Regions from separate parts of the Homo sapiens genome. Here region 2 is linked to region 1. Evidence: promoter capture Hi-C in 16 types of primary human blood cells and fetal thymus (Javierre and others, 2016). All regions are on one chromosome and are shown on one strand. Each heading gives the region's core, a stretch centred on a gene start or on the middle of the fragment in contact. The rest is flanking DNA. Distances are from core to core; before and after follow the strand shown.

What was found. Contacts are between HindIII fragments. The CHiCAGO score rates a contact against its expected background, and 5 or more counts as called.
Region 2: a contact is called between a fragment that was not itself captured here and the fragment with the promoter of UBTD2 in region 1, in 1 of 17 cell types (activated CD4 T cells). The highest score is 6.6, in activated CD4 T cells.

The regions. Positions count from the first base shown.
Region 1 is chr5:172,280,710-172,288,220 of GRCh38, reverse strand. UBTD2 (ubiquitin domain containing 2) reads left to right here and starts at 4,457. Exons shown (of 3, transcript NM_152277.3): 1 at 4,457-4,625. The coding sequence starts at 4,556. LOC100288254 (a long non-coding RNA gene) reads right to left here and starts at 2,624. Exons shown (of 2, transcript NR_130933.1): 1 at 2,466-2,624. RefSeq lists enhancers at 3,180-3,779, 3,780-4,380 and a silencer at 3,955-4,864. The HindIII fragment of the contact is 4,236 bases long and covers 3,199-7,434 here.
Region 2 is chr5:172,127,079-172,134,534 of GRCh38, reverse strand. STK10 (serine/threonine kinase 10) reads left to right here. Exons shown (of 19, transcript NM_005990.4): 3 at 7,114-7,162. Among named protein-coding and RNA genes, the nearest start is that of STK10, 57 kb to the left of the region's middle. The HindIII fragment of the contact is 6,680 bases long and covers 173-6,852 here.

The DNA.
Region 1 (7,511 bases), core at 3,208-5,707:
TTTGTGGTCGCCTAGGGCTGGGGTGAGGTAGGGGATAGAATGAAATGGGGAGTGACTGCTAATAGGTACAGGGTTTCTTTTTAGGGTGATAAAAATGTTTTAAAATTCATTGACTATTGATATTTAGTAAATATACTAAAAACCATTGACTTGTACAATGTAAATTGGTGAAGGGGTGGGGGTGGATGGGGAAAAGGGAGATATTGATTCCAGAGTAGAAAGTTTCAGTTAGGTGGAATAGGCATTAGTGACCTACTGCACAGAATGGTGACTATAATAATGCACTGTATACTTCCGAATCGTTAACAGAGTAGATCTTAAATGTTTTCACCACAAAAAAGAGAAGCACGTGGACGGGGCGCAGTGGCTCGGGGCACGGTGGCTCACGCCTGTAATCCCAGCACTTTGGGAGGCGAAGGTGGGCAGATCACGAGGTCAGCAATTTGAGACTAGCCTGGCCAACATGGCGAAACCCCATTTCTACTAAAATTACAAAAATTAGCTGGGCGTGGTGGCAGGCGCCTGTAATCCCAGTAACTTGGGAGGCTGAGGCAGGAGAATCGCTTGAACCCAGGAGGCAGAGGTGGCAGTGAGCTCAGATTGTGCCACTGCACTCCAGCCTGTGCAACAACAAGACTACGTCTCAAAAAAAAAAAAGACAAATACGTGAGGTGATGGATTTGTTAATTAGCCTAGTCATTCCACATTGTAAACATGTATCTAAACATCACACTGTGACCTCATAATACAGTTATTTGTCAATTAAAAATAAACTGGTGAAATACATGGTATATGAATATCTTAATAAAGATACTATAAAACAGTAGAAAAGCACATGTGCACACACACACACACACACACAAAGAAGGAATTGTTTTGATAGAAAGTGCTATGCAGTCAGTTTTTTTTTTTTGGAGTCAGTCTTGCTCTGTGGCCCAGGCTAAAGTGCAGTGGTGCTATCTCGGCTCACTGCAACCTCTGCCTCCCAGGTTCAAGTGATTCTCCTGCCTCAGCCTTCCGAGTAGCTGGGATTACAGGCACACGCCACCATGCCCAGCTAATTTTTGAATTTTTAGTAGAAACGGGGTTTCACCACGTTGGTCAACCTGGTCTCAAACTCCTGACCACAGGCGGTCTGCCCGCCTCAGCCTCCCAAAGTGTTGGGATTATAGGCCGAAGCCACTGTGCCTGCCTGCAGTAAATTTAGATAGATGATGCTAGACATGAAATAAAGAGTTGATGAAAAGCCCCACAGAGTTTGGAGCATTATTTTTGGCCCAATTTTACAGGTGAGGAAACTGAACTCCACATAAACTTTTTTTTTTTTTTTTTTTTAGATGGAGTCTCACTCTATCGCCCAGGTTGGAGTGCAGTGGCAAGATCTCAGCTCACTACAACCTCCGCCCTCCGGGTTCAAGCTATTCTTCTGCCTCAAACTCCCAAGTAGCTGGGACTACAGGTGCGAGCCACCACGCCTGGCTAATTTTTTTTTTTTTTTTTTTTTTTTTGAGATGGAGTCTCGCTCTGTTGCCCAGGCTGGAGTGCAGTGGCGCGATCTCTGCTCACTACAAGCTCCGCCTTCCGGGTTCACGCCATTCTCCTGCCTCAGCCTCCTGAGTAGCTGGGACTACAGGCGCCTGCCACCACGCCCGGCTAATTTTTTGTATTTTTAGTAGAGACGGGGTTTCACCATGTTAGCCAGGATGGTCTCGATCTCCTGACCTTGTGATCCGCCTGCCTCAGCCTCCCAAAATGCTGGGATTACAGGCATGAGGCACCACGCCCAGCCTAATTTTTGTATTTTTAATAGAGATGGGATTTCACCATATTGGCCAGGCTGGCCTCCAACTCCTGACCTCGTGATCCGCCCGCCTCGGCCTCCCAGAGTGCTAGGATTACAGGCATGAACCACCGTGCCCGGCCAAACTTTCTTTTTTCTTTTTTTGAGACAGGGTCTCGCTCTGTCACCCACACTGGAGTGCAGTGGCGCGATCACAGCTTACTGTAGCCTCCACCTCTCTGGATTCAGGTAATTCTCCCACCTCAGCCCCCTGAGTAGCTGGGACTACAGGCGCTCACCACCACGCCCCGCTAATTTTTAAAATTTTTTCGTAGAGACAGGGTCTCCCTATGTTGCTCAGGCTGGTCTGAAACAGCTGGGCTCAAGTGAGCTTCCCACCTCAGCCTCCCAAGGTGCTGGGATCACAGGCGTGAGCCACCATGTCTGGCAGAAACTTCAGACCATATAGCTAGTACACGATGAAAGCCAGATTCCAATCCAGGAAGTTAATCGCCAAGCTGGGGCCCTGACTGCGACACTACTCTGCCTCCTGGGAAATGTGTCTCTAAGATAAAGGCAGGGTGGAGAACATCTATTGCTGAGAATCTCTCCCCGAGATTGCTCTCTCTTCCTAGTGCCAACTCCTCAGTGCTCATCGGAGAGCCCTCATCATTTGGGTGCCTACCATCTGTTTAATAGACATCGTGGAAGTCTTGGTTTCTGCAATTTCTAGAGTGAAATTCAGGACAAAGCAATCTCTTTGCAAATATTCGGCATGCAGCTTCTCTTCTTCAGGGAAGTGATGAAGTGATGTGTCTGCCAACGTGTATAGTTAGTTGAAAATGATCAGACAGAAGGCTTTGTGACACAGCCCCTGATGTCAGAGCAACCTCTGAAAACTCATAATAACATCGATGGCATAAGCTCTTTTTGGAATGTTCAGGACCACAACTGAGGACAATACTAATTCTTCAGGATGAGTTTAATATAGCAGATTTCTATATCTCACGACATTTCTGTGTTTTAACCTAAGTGTAGGTTTTGCTTGTCTACTGTCTTTTTATCAAATGAATACAGAGATCTAAATCTTTGTATAATAGCTTGATCTATTTCTGTGAGCTAGATTTCCAGATGTGGAATAATCCCGAGTCAAAGGATATGAACATTTTTAAGGCTCTTGATCTGCATTGCCAAATTGCTTTGCAAAAAAGATTGAACCAATTTACACTCCCACCAGCAATGTATGAGAATATATTTAAATGCAAATCCCAAGCTGCAGAGCATCTCTTTCTTAGGTATTTCAACTTAAAAAATTTTTTTTCGTGCTAAGCAAAAGCTGACCCAGGATGTTAAAAAAAGAAAGTCTGATATAAAAATGGAGCAGATAGTTAAAACAGCTTCTTAGGCAGAAATAAGCTTTAGAAAGTCCCAAGCAGGATGATAACAATTTTAAGGCATCATAGCACGAAGCACAATTCTAAAGGGACCATTAACAATTTGGCTGAGATTGGAAAAGTAACCGCCAAGAATGTTGGGCGTGGTCAATGTCCCAAATTCTAGATTCGAAAAGGCAGGGTGTTTCACTCATTTACACTTCACTTTGGCCTAAGGACGATTTAAGATACCCAAAGGCAGGATCTTGATAAGTAGTATTGTTTGAATCATTAATCCCGTGAAAATGAAAGAAACCCACGCCCCCTGAACTAAGGTCAGCGTTTATCTCTTCTTTCCAGGCGTTCCATCAGGACGCCTCGCCTCTAATCTCAGTTTGGTTTGCCACAACCACTGCCTCCACCCCTAATAATGGGGCCCCATGATTTTAGGGAAGACGGGGGTGGGCAGGCAAGAGGAAGCCCAGATTCGGGGTACCAACCCACGGAGCGCCATACAAATTCAAAGGGCGCTGGGACCTCAACGTTCGGCCAGGACACTCTCCCCCGAGCCCCCGTTATTTGGGAAACCGCCCCGTCCCCGCCTGCGAGTCTTCCACGACTACTTCTCGGTTCCCCCGTGCGACCCGCTTCCACCAGCAAGAAGGAGCCGACGGCCGAGGAGCCAGGAACTCGATTTCGCCCCTTCCCACTCCTCTTTTCTCACTTTTGTTCGGCTTTTTCCTGCTTTCCCTCCCTTCTTCCCTCTCCTTTCTTCTTCCCGTCCTCCCTCTCTCCTCCTCCCCTCGCCTCCAGTCCTCCCCCCGCCTGCAGTCCTCCCCCCACCTAGCCCCCTGCGTCCCCTCCCCCGCCTCACCCTCGCCCCGCTCCGCTCGCAGCCCCGCCCGCAGCCAATCAGAGCGCGGCCTCCGGTGGCCCCGCCCTTCTCCGGCGATTCCGGGCGGGCCGGGCCGAGCCCAGGCCGTGGGTGCGGAGGGCGGCGCCGCGGGCCGGGGGCCGATGGGTCCTGGCGGACGCGAGGCGCCGGCGCGGGGCTCGCCTGGACTCGGGTGTGCGGGGCTGTGAGGGGGCGAGGCGGGCGCTGCGGCCCGCCCGGGATGGGCCAGCCCTGGCCTGGCGGGGCTGAGCCGAAGGCGAGGGCGGCGCGCGGGCCAGGCCTGCCGGGCGGGCGGCCCGGGGGTTGAGGTAGAAGTGGGCGCGGAGGAAGGGGCCGAGCCAAGGCGGTGGGTGGAGCGGCGAGGGGGGCGGAGGCTGGGCCGCGGCGGGCGAGCGGAGCGGCGCGCCTGTCCGGAGCTCGGCGGTGGCGCCGGAGGAGGCTGCAGCGGCGGCGGCGGCGGGCCCGGACGAGCGTCCGGAGGTGGCGGACGAGGCGCCGGGGGCCCCCATGGGCGGGTGTGTGGGCGCCCAGCACGACTCCTCGGGCAGCCTCAACGAGAACTCGGAGGGCACCGGAGGTAGGTGAGCGCCAGGGGGCAGCCTCGGCCCCCCATTGTTCCCGGCCAGGCCCGGCCACCTGTCCCGACCCCCGCGGGCCGCGCCGGGCCCCCGCGCCCCTTTGTCATCCCCTCTTCCACGTCATTCCCCGCGCTCCGCTTCCGGCTGTCCTGCCAGCCGCGGGGGTCGCCCCTTCCCGCCCCAGCCCTGAAGAAAAGTCCTCTGAGCGCCGGGGACGTAGCCCTTGGCCTCGCCGACCGCCCCGCTCGGCTCGGGGAAGTCGGACCCGAAGCTGCCCTTCTGGCCACCTCACTCCCTCTCCAGGCCGTTTAATTATTGAGGATCAGGATGGCGGCGCCGGGGTTGCAGAAAAGCGAATTGATGGCGGGGGGAGGGAGCTTGATGCGTTCCCTCCGACGGGCCCCGCCACATCTTTCCGCACCCTTCCTTGTTCTGTGGAGTTGGCTGGTCTCAGCTTTCCTGAGTTTCAGATGACAGCTGCCCCGGTTGGTTCCAGATTGGCCATTTAAACCTGCGAGTTTCTGGAGCTCGGCTGGAGGAGTCTCCAGTGGCCGCAGGCATTGTATTAAGGAGGGGTGGGGAAACGGTCTTCCCGGGTAAAACGTGGCTCCTAGCTAGAGCTTGGGGGTGTTAGGCCGGTGTGCTGTCGGGGTGGGCTAATCACATTCCCATCTGTCTTACGTAGAAGGAAAATATGTAGGATAAAAGTACAAGTGCAGTTGGACCCTGACTTACCCCACCCAGTAAGATCAGTACTTTAAAAGTTTTCTAACACGGGAACGCACTCCTACTTTATAGTAAAAGCGTGCTGAGGATAGGTATTTTAATTCAATCAGTAGTAGTTGTAGTATGGCAGTATAATAATAAAATTAGTTCTATCTTTATTTAAGTGACCTTTGGTTACGTCCATTCTGTAGAATATTTTAGTGATAAACAGCCTTTAGGCAAAGATGACAGCGTTGGTTTGATTTGTGACCTAATGTTAGCTGCCTTAAAATGTGCATGTCTGTAAATTTTTAAATTGTTTGGGTATGGGAGGGTTTACAACTTTTTCGTAGCATACTAACATTTAGACCAGTTGCTTGCCCTGTCACTTAAGCTCTCTTCACAAACCATGTACACCTAAGTTTTTTGGCTAATGGATTTCCTGAATTCCATGATGGTTAGCCATGCCACTTTATTAAAATCTGTGGGTATCCTGTATGACTAAATCCTGGGTAAATAACTTGAGAACTCAGTGGAAGTTGTCTTGAAAAAGTCCATGAAAATGCTACTTTATAGTGTATTTTATGTCGTAGCATTATTACTGGCATATTGAGATCCTCAGTGACAACAAAGCAGGAAGATAAAAAGGGCACGATTTAAAACAGCCTTGGGTTAAGGTGAAATTGAAGGATCAAAATGAATCTTCCTCTAATTGTGTTGATCATTAATGATTCTGAAATATATTAGTATTTGTTATCGCTAGTGTTTAGTTTTAATTAAATTTTTTTCACACTCATTTTAATATTGTCATAAGCATTTTGCTCTTCTCCGTAATGTATGTGGATTAATTTATTTAAGCCTTTTGGTAGTGTGACTTATGACCAGACAGGCATTATTAATATGGGCTTTAAAAAGCGTGAAATCTTAGCTTTGGGTAATTTATTACCGGTGGTATCCAGTTAGATAGCTATAGTATCAGTTTCTTTGAGGACTGAGTTCTCTGGACCGTAAGCTCTGCTGTACATGAAGTTTAGAAAAAGGAACATTAACCACCAAACGTCTTTATTTTCTTTTGGAGAGAGGACATGGGCCCTGATGTAACTGGGGTCAGGGAAGAGGCTCTTGTACTAAAAGGATTATTTCTGGAATTTGATTATGGACGCTTTTATTCTCCATTATTGTCATGATAATTAAGAGTTAATTGTGGTTTAGTGAAATTAACTCAGGTGTGTTGCAGGTTAACATATAAAAAAAATTATTGCTTAATAAGTAGATTGTTGGGAAGGGAAAGACTTTTTCCTAAGGGTGTTGGCACAGATCCCTAGCTTTTCAAACATACTGTGGTAGTGAGTTAGGTTTGGGGGATGTGTGGAGGGCTTGGTTTGGTTTCTCGAGACAGGTTCTTGCTTTATCGCCCAAGCTGGAGTGCAGTGCCAGATCACAGCTCACTGCAGCCTTGACCTCCCAGGTACAAGTGATCCTTCTACCTCAGCCTCCCAAGTAACTGGGACCACGAGGTGCATGCCACCGCACCCGGCTAATTTTTAAAAAATTTTTAGTAGAGGTGGGTTTTGCCGTGTTTTTAATCTGAATGTGTTGGGTTATGAAAGTTGTTTTATCAACATGGAGTCTTCACATGCTTCTTACAACGGATTTAAACTTTCCATGACAGATTTAATTACATTCACCAACCAGGCGGGGTGGCTCATGCCTGTAATCCCAGCACTTTGGGATGATGAGGCGAGAGGATTGCTTGAGCCCCAGGAGTTGGAGACCAGCCCAGGCAACATAGTGAGACTCTGTCTTTAAAAAAATAAACAAAATAATTACATTCACAGTGTTGTGCAAACATCACCATTTTAGAATAGCTTGACCCTTTCTAAATATCAGCCAGCCTTAGTAAGAAAAAGATTTTAAAAAAATCTTTTGACCATTTGAAATACTATACTTTCCTTTTTCCCTCTGAATCCATCTCTTATGTATGCAAGTAATTATGTGTATATCAATAAAACCTTCCTTATTAGGTGTATTCTTTGAAGGAATTTGGGAGATTTTTATAAGAGACTGTAGAATATGGAAGTGGCTTAATTCACATTATAAGCTTTGCATTATCTATTGTTTTGGGATTAATTGTTGTATTTTCCTTTGGCATATACCTTGCCTAGAATTTAGTTCTTGAG
Region 2 (7,456 bases), core at 2,263-4,762, 150 kb after region 1:
TGGTGTCATTTTTGTCCATCTGGTCTTTTACTAACCCCCATATACCCTTTGACACATATTTAGAGGTCCTCAAAATTTTTATTTAAAGATGGGAGGATATGGAAATATTTTTTTAAAAAACTCATTGAAACAGACTGCAGTACGGTCTTTAATAATGAAGATCCCCAAAGCTTCTGTGTGAATACTCAGGGCTTCTCAAACCATCTCTTGGTAAAGGCTGATGAGGATGATCATACATCCTACCAAAGCCCCTCACTCTTTGGTTTGAGGCAAGATAAAAAGGAACACTGGTGATGAAATTTAGGATAACAAGGAGCATAAAAGAGGCAGTACTTCTGCCAGTTTGCCCCCAAGTTTCTCTACCAACATCTTACAGTGCCTTTTGTTAAGGGGAGGACAGATGTGGTCCCAGGGTCCAGGCCTCTTGCTCTTATAAATTCCCATTGAGCAGTAGTTCTCAAAGTGTGACCAGGGGTCCAGCAACAGCAGCAGCATCTGAGCACTTGTTGGAAACCAGATTCTTGGACCTTGCTTCAGACCCACTGAATCAGAAGCTCTGGAGTGGGACCCAGTGATCTGTTTTAACAAGCACTCTGCTGAACGTTCAAGTTGGAGAGCCGTTGGTGTAGCATTTTCAGCTGGTACAACCTGGAGTCTGCCACCTGGAGAGTGTGGTTACTCATCATCTCCTGCCAAGCGTGGGATCAGGTACTTTTGGTAACAAGTGACAGCAAACCTTAAACTAACCTACTAAACAGCGCAGAAATTAATTCGTTTGCATATTCTGCCTAAAAAGTCAGTAGGGAGCAGGCTTGTTCTCCGTTTTCCTGTGATTCTCTCTGTCTTCCTCTGTGTATTAGCTTTGTCTTCACACCCACTTCTCTCGTGGTTGCAACATGGTTTCCTGCAACCATCAGAGTTGTGTGCTTCCTAATTAGCTCCAGAGTGAGACGACGTGGCATTCCACACCATCAAGCACAACTCACCAGCTTAGCTCTGATGACACCAGCCCTGAGTCAGGGCACGAGGCAGAAAATTTTCCTGACTGGCTTAGCACCCTGCTTCTACCCCTCCCTTGCAGGGGATGAGTAAGTCCTACCCAGTTCTCATGGCTATTTCACAAAGGGGAAGGAAGACATGGTGTATGTGGAGGGGGAGGTAGCCATGGTGCCCAGGACATCAGGACTCATGAAATGGCCTCTTCGCTGTTTGTCCCCAACCCACTGTTTTTTCCTTAATAATGCATCTAGAGGGATCTTTCCAAAGCAAAAGCCTGTCTACAACACCTCTTGCTTAAACCCTTTGGTGTATCTCCCCAGACACACACGCACACACGCACACACAGCTCTCCAGATTAGGTTCATACTTTGAGATGTTCAAGTTCTAGTTCTAATTGACCTCCAGCCTGCTGGATTCCCATCCTTTGGAACCCCATGGAATGCTCCGCCATTACCCGCTTCCACGCTTTTCCCTGCTGCCCCACCTCTGCTTCTGTGTTCTGCCAGGAGTGCCTTTACCCTTCCCCACGTGGTAAATTCACCCTTCAAAACTCAGCCTGGATATCTGCTTCCTCTGGGATAGCTCTAAGGCAGGTTAATGACCGTGTCCACAGGCTTCTGGGTTACATAGTCACCGTGTGCCTGCACCACTCATTTCTATATCTCCCTCAGCTGGTGATTTTGGGGCAGGGACCTGTTTGATTCTCCCTGGGTCCTCAGTCCCCAGGCTTGCCACGCACTAGGAGCTCAGATAGTGTTTGTTGATCACATACTACTTTTGTGTCCCCTACTGTTGCCTAGCAAAGTAGGGCCCCTGGTAGACACTCAGTTTATAATGATCAATGCATTAAACTGACCACAAATCTCAGTTCTTCAGGTCCTAGGAAAACCGTGAGCCACCTGCAAATATAGGCTGCTTATGCCCTTGACAGGTTCAGGGAATCCGTCCTTTTAGCACTGGGGCGGTTTCACTTTGGACTTGATCAGGGCTTAGAGGCCTTTAGCTTTCCGATCCTGAGGAGCCTCCCTTTATCCAGGAAGCAGGGGACTGGACCACTGGGACCTTCATCACGGGTGGGCACGGATTCCCCATCCCAATCAGAAGAATAGCTGTATCTGTAGCAGTAGGTTATTCTAGGCCAGTTCTTTCCATTAAAAAAAAACTAAAGCCCCTAGGTTGAATTAAAAAAATTAAAAAAATTAAAAATTTAAAAGTCATGTTTATTTCTAATATACAATTTGATAATACATATTTATTGAATATAATACATAAAAGTACAAACTACCTGTAATCCTCCTATGGGTTTTGTGCTTCCAGTCTTTTTTCTAAGCATGCATATGTAGTAATTTCCTAAAGCATTGAGATTATTATTTTATTCATATTTATTACCATCGTCTCAGTGCATTTTATGCTGCTATAACAGAATACCTGACACTGGGTAATTTGTAAACAATAGAAATTTATCTAGCTCATGGCTCTGGAGGCTGGGAAGTCCAAGGTTGAGGGCCCTGCATCTGGCGAGGGCCTTCTTGCCATCGTGGAAGGTGGAAAGAGCAAGAGGGCATGCAGGAGAGAGCCAGCAACTGAACTCACAGCCTCTAGCCCTTTTATAATCAGCACTAATTCATTCATGAGGGTGGAGCCCTCATGGTCTAAACACCTCCCATTACTGTTGGTCCCACCTCCCAACACTGTTACATTGGGGATTAAGTTTCCAACACATGCCTTTTGGGAGATACATTCAACTATTATTTTATCTGTTACTGTTGAGACTATTGTTTTATTAATTAAACCCCATGTATTTCTGCAAAAAGCCCTGACAAGTTTATAATACCAATCCCCTGTAGCCCTCCTGCCACTGATAAGCTGAAGGTAAAAATGTTAAGACCCAGATACTAAAAAAAGCAAGTAAGGCCTGGGAGTCAAACCAAAGCTGAGGAACTTAACCCAGAGCTTCCCAGCAGCCAAGGCAAAAAAATAAATAAATAAAAGGGAAGCTCAAGGGGTTGTGGAGCTCTTGAACTAAAGAAGAGGAAGCAAGCCAGGTTGTCAGAATGCACGAGCTTTCCTGGTGCTGACCTCTGGAGAGGGCACAGGGACGTTGTATAAGAGTGTTGTGTAAGGGACAGTTTCACTGAAAGATGCAGGAACTGCCTGGGTTTGGTCACTTCTCATACTGACTCTTAAGAATAGCTGATGACAGGCCAGGCGCGGGGGCTCACGCCTGTAATCCCAGCACTTTGGGAGGCTGAGGCAGGCAGATCGCGAGGTCAGGAGATCGAGACCATCCTGGCTAACACGGTGAAACCCTGCCTCTACCAAAAAATACAAAAAATTAGCCGGATGTGGTGGCGGGCGCCTGTAGTCCCAGCTACTCGGGAGGCTGAGGCAGGAGAATGGCGTGAACCTGGGAGGCGGAGCTTGCAGTGAGCCAAGATCGCGCCACTGCACTCCAGCCTGGGCAACAGAGTGAGACTCTGTCAAAAAAAAAAAAAAAAAAAAACAGCTGATGGCATGTCCATAACTTTTAGTTCTCAAAAATAAATAAATACATAAAGAAATTGTAGTTCTGGGAAGACATTTCTTTGTTTTGTTTTGTTTTCCCTAGGAATCAGACTGAGAGGAAGGCATATTTTTGTAGGAATCCTAAGTGACGTGATCTAAGCATGAAACTTACTGGTGATTTCATTTGGTAGAGATTTAACAAACACATATTAACTGTGTGGCTTTTGTGCTGTTCTTTCATGTAAGGAATCTCATTTAACTTTCTCAATGAAGTTGGAGGCAAGAGATGATTAGGCCATTTTACAGATGGGGAAATGGAGGCTCAGGGAGATTGACTTATCCAGGGTCATGTAGTCAATTAAGTGGCACACCAGGACTCGACCCCAGGTTTACAATCTTTTCCTCTGTGTTGGCACCTTGTTGGAGAAGCGGGAAGTGTCTGACCTTGTTACATATCCACGGTGTATTAGGACTGGGTTTTTCGGTTTTTTTTTTTTTTGGAGACAGAGTCTTGCTCTGTCACCCAGACTGGAATGCTGTGGTGTGATCTCCGCTCACTGCAGCCTCCGCCTCCTGGGTTCAAGTGATTCTCCTGCCTCCGCCTCCCAAGTAGCTGGGATTACAGGTGCCCGCCACCACACCTGGCTACTTTTTGTATTTTTAGTGGAGACGGGGTTTTGCCATTTTGGCCAGGCTGGTCTCGAACTCCTGACCTCAGGTGATCTGCCTGCCTCATCTTCCCAATATGCTGGGATTACAAGAGTGAGTCACTGCCCCCAGCCTAGGACTAGGTCTTTATAAGTACCACCTCATCTGTTCCTTACAGTAAATCCTAGAGCCACGTAATATTAGCCCATTTTACGGAGAGGATTGGCGGTTGTCCAAGGCCATACAGATGGTAGGTGTTAGGGAGGCTAACCAGGGGTTCCCAGCCAGGGTTTGGTGATGGAACTTCAGGATGTGGAAGGATTCAATAGAATGGCACAGGAACATTTCTGGGTGAGAGGGGAGAGGATGGCTTTCACAGAGCCTCAAAAAACCCAAACAAAAATAAATGAGAAAAACAGACCCATGAACTCAAGGAAAGAATCATAGTGACAGCTCACATAACTGAGTCCCGACCTGGGGCCAGGCACGTGTCAAGGCCTGGATGAGCTTATCATTCCCATGAGGGTTAGGGTGTATCATCCCCATCTCACAGGTCGCCCAGCTAGTAAGTGGCCTTGCATGGTCACTGAGTTTTGCTTCTTTTCCATCATCACCTCTTGTGGCTTGTTTTTTTTCTAGCAGTTAGTAGAATTTTTCTTCCTCTTTCGTGGAGCTGAGAATTACTACAAGGCAGAATGATATGCTGTGCTTCAAAAGGTCATTGCCTGTTTCCAAGTCACCTCTGTCTGTTCCCTTGCCACTGGGAACAAGCTGGTTAGGTGGTGGTTGGGTAAGAGGGAACAAATGAATGGACGAATGAATGAATGAACAAGTGGATGGAGGAAGTACCTCTTCCTTGGCGTTCGGGATCAGCATGCATGGATCCATTTCTGATGACTTTTATTCAAGGGTGACAGGTCACTGTAGTGTTAGAGAGAAGTCTTGGGGAAGCTGAGGTCAGGCCCGTTGTTGATGACCAGGCAGGACCAGAGTGACCCAGAAGGCCTCCTTCCTCCTCAGCAGGGAGTGGTGTGGAAGTGGGCCGTGCCGCCTTCCACAGCTCTCTGCCGTGGCACACAGCCCTCCAAGGCAAGTGGCAAGCCTGGCAGGGCCTGGAATGGTTGCTACCCCTGGAACCTAGTATCTCTAGTATCCCTGGCCCACGTTAAAGTCCCCTGTTTTATCTGCTGTGGTTTCGTGCATCCCAGCCCGGCTTATACCCCTAGTGTAGCCCAGCCATGGGGTCCCAGTTCAGAGCAACAGCATCAGCAGCCCCATTTTACAGCTGAGGACACAGTCTCAGAGGACGGAAGTGACCTGTCCAAGGCCACACTAGTGAGCGGTGGACCTGGGCCATGAGCCCAGCCGTGACTGGCTCCAAAGCCACGCATCACCACATCCTCATAGGACCCACATGACCTCAGGGTCATATTTACATTGCCAGGAGGCTCCTGGAAGGTAAGCCACAAACTGGAGGCTTCATCAAATTCCTGAGGCTGCTCCACCCTCCTCTGGCTGGAGAGCTGTCTCTGGTCCAGCTAGACCATGGTTGAGAGTTTCTTTCCTGTTTAGAGACAGCGTGGGTCTTCTTGACTGCCCCACTCTCCAGGGCCTCTGCTGAGCTGGGTTGAAGGAACTTCACAACAAGCAGGGGCCAGGAGCTGGAAGCTAAGAGGTGATTCTGCCTGTCCTGAAGTTTGTGACGCCATCCCTCTTCCTCAACCACCTGTAGCCCTACTTTAAGAAAAAAGAGGTCAGGCAGGGTGGCTCACGCCTGTAATCCCAGCACTTTGGGAGGCCAGGGCGGGTGGATCACCTGAGGTCAGATGTTTGAGACCAGCCTGGCCAACATGGTGAAACCCCATCTCTACTAAAAACACAAACATTAGCCAGGTGTGGTGGCAGGTGCCTTTAATCCCAGCTACTCAGGAGGCTGAGGCAGGAGAATCACTTGAACCCCAGAGATGGAGCCAAGATTGTGCCATTGCACGCTAGCCTGGGTGACAAGAGCGAGAGTCTGTCTAAAAAAAAAAAAAAAAAGGAAAGAAGAAAGAAAAGAAAAAGCATCTATGCAAAGAGCCCGGAGTGGGCCAGAAAGAGTGAGAATGGGAGTGAACCAGGGCTGGAAGAACCTTTCTTTTTTTTTTTTTTTTTTTTTTTTGAGACGGAGTCTCCCTCTATTGCTCTATTGCCCAGGCTGGAGTGCAGCGGGTGGATCACGAGGTCAGGAAGGACCTTTCTACTGTAATCGTCCTTTCTGCCCCTCCACTAGGCTGGGAGCCCCTTGAGGGCCTAGACCTGGTTGTTCTCCCGGGGCCTGCAGCCTGTCAGTGTGGAGTAGGTGTATGATGAATGAATGAATGACCTGAGGGTTTGGAGCTCTGCTTCCAGTCCAGGAACAATCTCTGTGGCCTTGGTCAGTTACATCCCCTTTTTTGGCCTCAGTTTCTCCATCTGAGCTGATCTTCAAGGCCCTGATGTTCTGAGCCAGCAAGGTCCAGGGTTCTGGAAGATGGAGAGAGCCTGAGACAGGTGCTGGGATTCTGAGAGGACTTGGCCAGCTTGGCCGGGGGAAGGCATCCTGAGGTTCTTGGCTGTGGAGCATAGGAAACAGGGCAGCTGGCAGGTGGGCACCAGGCGCATAGGCGGGAGCGAGGAGGGAGGGTGTGGGCTTGGCTGAAGAGGCTGTTTGCTGAAGCTTCAGGTCTTCGTAGCAACTTAGTTTTCCTTCTTCAGAAAATGAAGCAGCCAAGAAGCTCCTCTGGGTGTCAGAGCCTCCAGTGAGGTTTGAGGCCCACTGGGGGAGGGGGACGGGCTCCCAAGGCAGGAGGAGGAAGGGCTGGAGAGCAGGGGCACCCAGGCATTGGGCATGGGTGGACCCTGCCCAATGGGCCTGTGGGGTTCCCGTCTCGACGGCTGGGCAGCCCCACTCATTGTCACTTTGCCCTGTGTTTTCTGCAGATCATGATTGAGTTCTGTCCAGGGGGAGCCGTGGACGCCATCATGCTGGGTGAGTCTTACTTGATTCGGTGCATTGTCGGGACCAGACGACTCGTTTGGAGTCCTAAGCCTGACTGCTGGACAGCTCTGTCTAGGACTGGGACCTCCACTCTCCCATTCCATCAGTTCCCATGGCCTCTTTGAGCACCTCTCTACTATGTCTGCTTTTGGGAGCAGGGTGTGGGTTCTTTTTTTCTTTCTTTCTCTTTTTGAGACAGAGTCTTGCTCTGTTGCCCAGGCTGGAATGCAGTGGTGCGATCTCAGCTCACTCACTGCAGCCTCCGCCTCCCGGGTTCAAATGACT